2 separate regions of the Homo sapiens genome follow, and region 2 is linked to region 1. The links are contacts of gene promoters, found by promoter capture Hi-C in blood cells and fetal thymus (Javierre and others, 2016). All regions are on one chromosome and are shown on one strand. The core of a region is centred on a gene start or on the middle of the fragment in contact, and the rest is flanking DNA. Distances in the headings are between cores, read along the strand shown. Region 1 holds the start of GXYLT1 (glucoside xylosyltransferase 1). Region 2 overlaps PRICKLE1 (prickle planar cell polarity protein 1).

Region 1 (3,456 bases), core at 463-2,962:
GAGAGCAGTACACTCCTTTTATTTCTGAATACTCTGCATCAGAGCCCCTTGTCTGGCATGTAGAATATGTTCAATAAATGTTTATTGAATGCATAAATGTATGTTCTCATTCTCTTTACACATCTTGATAGCATGCTAATGTTCATTTTTTATCAGGTAAAGCAAGAAGGGGAGGAAGTTGAACCTTAAATTTGTTTAGTGACTTTATCATGGTCACAGAACCACTACTTTTTTGGTATAGGGAGCCAAGGATCCAAATGGAGACTGCTACTATTTTGCGCAGCATTTCCCCACCTTGTATCTCATGGCCAAACTTTTCAACGCCCCAGATGCAATTTCAGCAGTTAAACGCATGATTTTTCCCCATGAATGTGTGTTCGTGTGTGTGTGTATTTTTAAGTATCCCTTCCCTCACTTTTTGGCACTGGTGCTGCTTTCTGCCTCCAATCTCTCCTCTCTCTGTTTCAGCCTCCACACTACAGCCAGAATCTGCTCTCTAAAATGCAATTGTGATCATGTTACTTCCCTATTTAAAAACCCTTCAATGGTTCACTAATGTCTTGCAGATTAAATTCAAACTCCTTGGTGTGCTAAACAAAGCACTCAAATATCTGGCCCCTTCTACGCGCTTATCGCTCATCATACCCTCTCTTGCATTCACTTAGCTGGTGGTATCAAACTTCTCAACAGTTCCCTACACAAGAGCCTGTTTATTGATCCTTCAGCCTGGAATTACTTCCCTTACCCGACTCAAGACTCTAGCGCCACCTTTGCTATGAAGTCTCTCTTGACCATACTCACAGATAGAACTGATTGTTCCTTTGTGTGTATGCCCACACCCTTACAGGCCTGGATCTTAAGTCTGTTATCACTGCGTTGCGCTTATTTACAAGTATCCGCTGTCCCACCCACGCTCCACTTAGGCCTCTTTATACCCCTAGGTACTCACACAGAGCTTGGCACAAGTGATGCTTTATAAATGGTCAATGAATGAACGTAGTGGAAACACAGAAGAAGAGGGAGAAGAACTGGGGAAGAAAGAAGCTCTGTGGAGAGAATACTAATTGTTTTGCACATGAAAATAATGAGTTGTGAGGGAGGTCAAAAAGGTCAAAGGGAAGAGCCCTGCCTTACAGGAACTCACTGTCTGCTGGGAGGCAAGAGGTAAGGTCCGCATACCAAACACACGAAGCAATGAGCTTATCGGGGTGAAAATGGCTCGTGCACATTATAGTATCACAGAAACTTAGAGGCTGGGGGAGGATGGAGAGGAAACTGGCCTAGTCAAGTGTCTTCTAAGTGTTAGGCGGTTTTCGAGCGTTAAACAGTTTAATCTTTACAACCACCCCATGATGAGGATAGTAGCTCCATTTTAGGGACGAAGAAACATGCTCAGAGAATTTAGGTTGCCCAATGTCACAAACTACCATGTGGAAGGACCATAATTAGAATTTAGGTCAACTGCCTCCAGAGCCCTGAGGCTTTCGCTCCCCCTCTCTCGGCGGTCGAGACCCACAGGGCTCCCATTCACCTGCGCGTCGGCCTGCGCTAGCTATAGCCCTCAGGCGCGCCGCGTTCCGCGCACTCACACCACCCTCTGCGCGCCAGCCCTGCGTCCCTCCCACGCGAACTGCGCCGGCGCGTCCAGCCCTCCCGCCCGGGGGAGGGGCGGGGTTGCGTCGCTGCCGCTGACCCTTGAGCGCGCGGCGGCAGAGGCGGTGTCCAGGCTTCCGGGCGGGTAGTCCTTCGGCTCCGGAGCCGCGACTGCGCTCGCCTAGGTGGTGGGCGGGGAGGGAAGGAAGGGAGCGGGCGCAAGGCGGCGGCGGCGGCTGCGGGTGAGGAACTTGTTGCGCCCGCGGCTGCGCGGTGCCCCTCCCTCCGCTCCAGTTCGTCGGGGCGGGCGCGGCGGCGGCGGCGAAGGAGGAGCGCGGCCGGGGCGATGCGGCGCTACCTGCGCGTCGTGGTGCTGTGTGTGGCCTGCGGCTTCTGCTCGCTCCTTTACGCTTTCAGCCAGCTCGCCGTGTCCCTGGAAGAAGGAACGGGCGGCGGTGGCGGGAAGCCGCAGGCCGCGGTGGCTTCCTGGCTCGCGGGCGGCGGACGCGGCGCCGTGAGAGGCGCCGGCGTCGCGGGCCCCGCAGCGCATCCCGGCGTGTCGGACAGGTACGGGCAGTTCCCGGTGTGGGGGACGCGGCGGGCGCGGGGCGCTGGGCGCGGGCTCGGCCTAGCCCGGGCTGCTCGCCGGTGGGTGCCGCGTCTCCCGCGTCTTTCCTCCTGTCTCTGACCCCTCACTCATTTCCCTCCTTCCCCTCCGGCCGGGGCTAAACCTGCGCTGCTCCCGCCTGAGAGTGTCCTACACTTTCTGTGTTTATCTTTTGACCCAGTCATGCGCCCTTTAAAGCAGTTAGAAATTAATTTTCAACTTTTTAAAAAGAGGGTTCTTTGAAAATAAGAGGTGTCCACAAAAGCCTTACTGCTGCCTGGCTAGTGAGAATTTCCTCTTGTTTCAGTGGAGTTCAAGTTGAGATATTTAAACATGAGGCTGGCGCCCTAGTTCAGTGTTTAAGGATTGTGTGTGTGTGTGTGAGTGTATATGTGTGTGTATTTTGTCCCTCATGCTGATTTTCCTGTGTTAACGCTTACACTTCTAAGTATTAGCCATGGTTAGTTAAATTTGGAAATGGCATTTGTGCGGGTTGTGAAATTTTCTTTTGGAAACACTCAGTTTATTAAGAAACTTAGAGCAAATTAAGAAAAATGAGCGATACTTGGCGTGCTCAAGTCTGTTGTTGGATGGGATGGAGTTACCTTTCTTGACAAATTGGTATTTAAAAAGCGACGTAATGACTTAGGACGTAATCACTGCCAGAGTGGGAATCAACATGAGATTTAAATAGAAAAAAAATGTTTCTGTCAACGCATTATGAATGCTTGAAATCTGAGCGTTTGCACTGCCTTGCAACATGGACACTTCCACCTTATGTATGGGCATCTCTCTGGGAATGACCTGAAGTGCTCCCTACCAAGACTTGGCAAATGCTGCTTTGATATAGAGAAGTATAGGGTTTGTCGGAAGAGGGAGTATAGATCAGTTGTGGGCTGTTGTTTAACATCATTTTGAGAGTCGATGGTCATTCCCAGAATGAAAGGGGAAAGTTTGGGCAGAGGAGCAGCGTGGAAAGCGGACTTGTCATGTTTTTACCCTGAGATTTGATTACAGTCAGGGTAATTCCTACATCAGGACCCTCAGTTGTCTGTCCTGGGAGAAAGCAGTCACTGAAGACTTGAATGAGCTCGTGAAAAATGACAGGTTGAAGCTAAACTGTTTATGGCCTAGTATGTTATTGTGAAGCATTTGCAATTATGGAAAAGGAATTATTTTTATATGGGGTAGAATTGTAAGGAAGCAACATTTTAATTAAATATTGAATGAAATTAGACTGATGTTAACATCACATT
Region 2 (3,456 bases), core at 245-2,744, 320 kb before region 1:
GGGTGCTAGTTATCTGAAGGTTTGCAGTTCTGCTGAGTTGGCTCAGCTGGTCTTCTCATTAGCTACAAGAGGCCAAACCCTGTACCTAGGGAAAGGTAACTTTTAAAGATTAAGTGAGCTGAGATGCTCAGTTCTGTATGTTGATGCCATTCTCACTGTCTCTTTTGCAGATCCAGCTCTATTTTGCTTGCTTACCAGAGGAAAAAGTTCCTTACGTTAACAGCCCCGGAGAGAAGCATCGGATTAAACAGCTTTTGTACCAGTTACCACCACATGATAATGAGGTAAAATAGCAGGAAGAAGGCTAATTAGAAAAAAGAAGAAAAAATGCATGAGAAGCATTGAGATGCTGCTCATAAACCCCAACTCCTCACTGGCGAGGGCTCCCTTTTGCCTTTCTTTAGTTAAAATTTGGCCAGAGAATACAGCTTTCCATTCTTTGAGAGAAAGAGAGAAAAGAGTATCAGTGTAATAAACTTAACACAAGTTGGTTTTTATAGTGTTTGCAGCCACCCACCAATGATCAGGAACCTACAAATTCCTGAGATTTCCCAGCCCCTGCATCCAGAGTGAATGCTTTATGGTCATTCAGGCCTGCAGTTGAGTTGAGTGCATGTAGAATGGAGAGTAAAAGTGGCAATTAACAAGTTTAAACCTTTTGTGGAAAGGTTAATGTCCTATATATATTTTTTAATTCTGTGTTGATAAGGGTTTTCAATTAAACATTTCTTATTTAAAAAAAAAGTATTCCTTCACATTGCATTTCCCTTTTTCTAGAGAGGCTGTAAAATTCAGATATGGTGTCATTTTAAAATCGTGGGGGTGTGACACAGGCGAGCTAAACTTACTGTTTCACTTCCTGAAACCCTAACTCTGGAAGTAGAGAACTGGTGAGAAAGACTGTGCACTCAGTGTGGTGTTTCTGTTTTGCTTTCTGTGAAGGTACGGTATTGCCAGTCTTTGAGTGAAGAGGAGAAAAAAGAGTTGCAGGTGTTCAGTGCTCAGCGGAAGAAAGAAGCACTGGGAAGAGGAACAATTAAGCTTCTGTCCAGAGCAGTCATGCATGCTGTGTGTGAGCAGGTGAGCAGCCCCTTCTCTGATGCGTAGCTTGTGGCAGTGATGTGGATGGGGTGGACAGTCGGGGGTAGGTGACTGGACTAGCAGAGGTGTGGGTCCTGAAAGCCTCCAGAAAATGAGAGAAAGACAGCCTAGCTTTTTATTAAATAGCAAATCATGTTTCATATTTGTAACTAGCTACACTGCTGTGTATGACAGCAGGAGTCAGTCACCCTTATGCAAACATTGGGTGAAATCCTGCCTTTGGTAGGATCCTGGCATGGAGGTAGGTGCTAGGATACATCTCGTATTCAAAAGATGCAGAAACATAATGAAGACATTCAGATCTTTGCTGGCAGTTCTCAGAGTAGGAAATGTATCCAGCAGGAGGCTGGCACAGGAAAACCACTATTTGTGTGAATCAGATTACACCGTCCTTAGAAATAGTTGTAGTATGTCTGAGACACGTGCCTTACAGTGGAGAATCACCAGTAATCCAGCATTAAAGAGCTATTTAATCACTAAAAGAGGTAGCAAAAATAAATACATTCCTGACAAATTCGAGATTTATCCTAAAGTAGGAAAGCCTGAGAATCCTGTCTTTAAAAAATGATCCTTTTACATTCAAACCCATTTGTTTGTAGTGTGGTTTGAAGATAAATGGAGGTGAAGTTGCAGTGTTCGCCTCCCGTGCGGGCCCTGGTGTGTGCTGGCACCCATCCTGTTTTGTCTGTTTCACGTGTAATGAGCTGCTGGTCGACCTCATCTATTTTTATCAGGATGGAAAAATTCACTGTGGCAGGCACCATGCAGAACTGCTCAAACCACGGTGCTCAGCATGTGACGAGGTAAAAAAAAGTTCATCCTTTCACACTGGGAAAAATAAGCTTAGATTAAGCCAATATTCCACTGTTTACATCAAGCAAAATACTAAAATTTCCTGGATTTTGTTCTGTGTGCATGTTTTAAACATAATCCTGTACATTCATACAATGAAATGATCTATATTTGGTTGCTGCAAAAGTAATTGCGGTTTTTTGCCATAATGGTCAAAACCGCAATTAATTTTTCACCTTCCTGATAGAAAGGGAAGCAGATGTCTTTGTACTTTGATAAGTATTATGTCTTCAGTGGGTTGTGAGAAAATACAAGCTGCAGAAGAGCATGTAGTAGATGGTCTCATTTTTGTTAAGAATTTAAAAAACAATATGATATATGTATTTGTTTATGCTCAGAAAAGGTATGGAAAGACAAATACCAAATTAATAGTAGTTACCCTCGGGGAAGGTGGGAATGGATGATGGCTTGAAAGGAAAAATTTTTTCCCTTTAGCTTTTTATTTTAAAATAATTTTAGATTTACAGAAGAGTTGCAAAGCTATTACAGAGAGATCCTGCATGCCCTTCTCCCAGCTTCCCCTGACACTAACGTCTTACATAACCATAATATATGTATCAAAACTAAGAAATTATCAGCAGTGTAATACCATTAACTAAACCATAGTCTTTGTTTAGATTTTCCCAGTGTTTTAACAGATGCTCCTTTTCTTATCCAAGATCAATCCAGGGTGCTTCATTGCATTTACTCGTTGTATCTTCTTAGTCTCCTTCAATCTATGACAATAAACTTTGTTTTTATTTTTATACATTCATTTACTTTATACATTTTTTTCAACAATGTTCTATTTGAACATATTTTTGTTTTTGTTTTGTTTTGATTTATTTTTTTGGGATGGAGTTGCTCTCTGTTGCCCAGGCTGGAGTGCCGTGGTGCAATCTTGGCTCACTGCAACCTCCGCCCCGCGTGTTCAAGTGATTCTTGCACCTCAGCCCCCCGAGTAGCTGGGATTGCAGGTGCCCACCACCACGCCCAGCTAATTTTTTTTTTTGTATTTTTAGTAGAGGCGGGCTTCACCATGTTGGCCAGGCTGGTCTCGAATTCCTGACCCCAAGAGATTCACCTCCCTCAGCCTCCCAAAATGCTGGGAATACCAGGGTGAGCCACCATGCTCCGCTGAACATATTTTGGAAACCAAAAATATAAAAAAAATGAAAGAACCTGCCGGGCTCGGTGGCTCACGCCTGTAATCCCAGCACTTTGGGAGGCCGAGATGGGCAGATCACGAGGTCAAGAGACAGAGACCATCCTGGCAAACATGGTGAAACCCCGTCTCTACTGAAAATACAAAAATTAGCTGGGCATGGTGGCATGCACCTTTAGTCCCAGCTACTCAGGAGGCTGAGGCAGGAGAATTGCTTGAACCCCAGGAGGCGGAGGTTGCAGTGAGCCGAGGTCACGCCATTGCACTCCAGCGTGGTGACAGAGCGAGACTCTGTCTCAAAAAAATAAAAAATAAAAATAAAAATAAAAAAAGAACCAGACTAGACCCCATGGTGAGAC

Evidence for each region. The method cuts DNA at HindIII sites, captures the fragments that hold promoters and counts their contacts. A CHiCAGO score of 5 or more calls a contact.
Region 2: a fragment that was not itself captured here is called in contact with the fragment with the promoter of GXYLT1 in region 1 in 2 of 17 cell types (naive B cells and total B cells); the score reaches 6.6 in naive B cells.

What each region holds. Positions count from the first base shown.
Region 1 is chr12:42,143,130-42,146,585 of GRCh38, reverse strand. GXYLT1 (glucoside xylosyltransferase 1) reads left to right here and starts at 1,712. Exons shown (of 8, transcript NM_173601.2): 1 at 1,712-2,160. The coding sequence starts at 1,940. RefSeq lists an enhancer at 1,285-1,354 and silencers at 1,515-2,014, 2,095-2,324. The HindIII fragment of the contact is 13,899 bases long and covers 1-3,456 here.
Region 2 is chr12:42,467,074-42,470,529 of GRCh38, reverse strand. It overlaps PRICKLE1 (prickle planar cell polarity protein 1), which reads left to right. Exons shown (of 8, transcript NM_153026.3): 3 at 171-284; 4 at 943-1,080; 5 at 1,701-1,904. Among named protein-coding and RNA genes, the nearest start is that of PRICKLE1, 120 kb to the left of the region's middle. RefSeq lists enhancers at 867-916, 927-1,026. The HindIII fragment of the contact is 902 bases long and covers 1,044-1,945 here.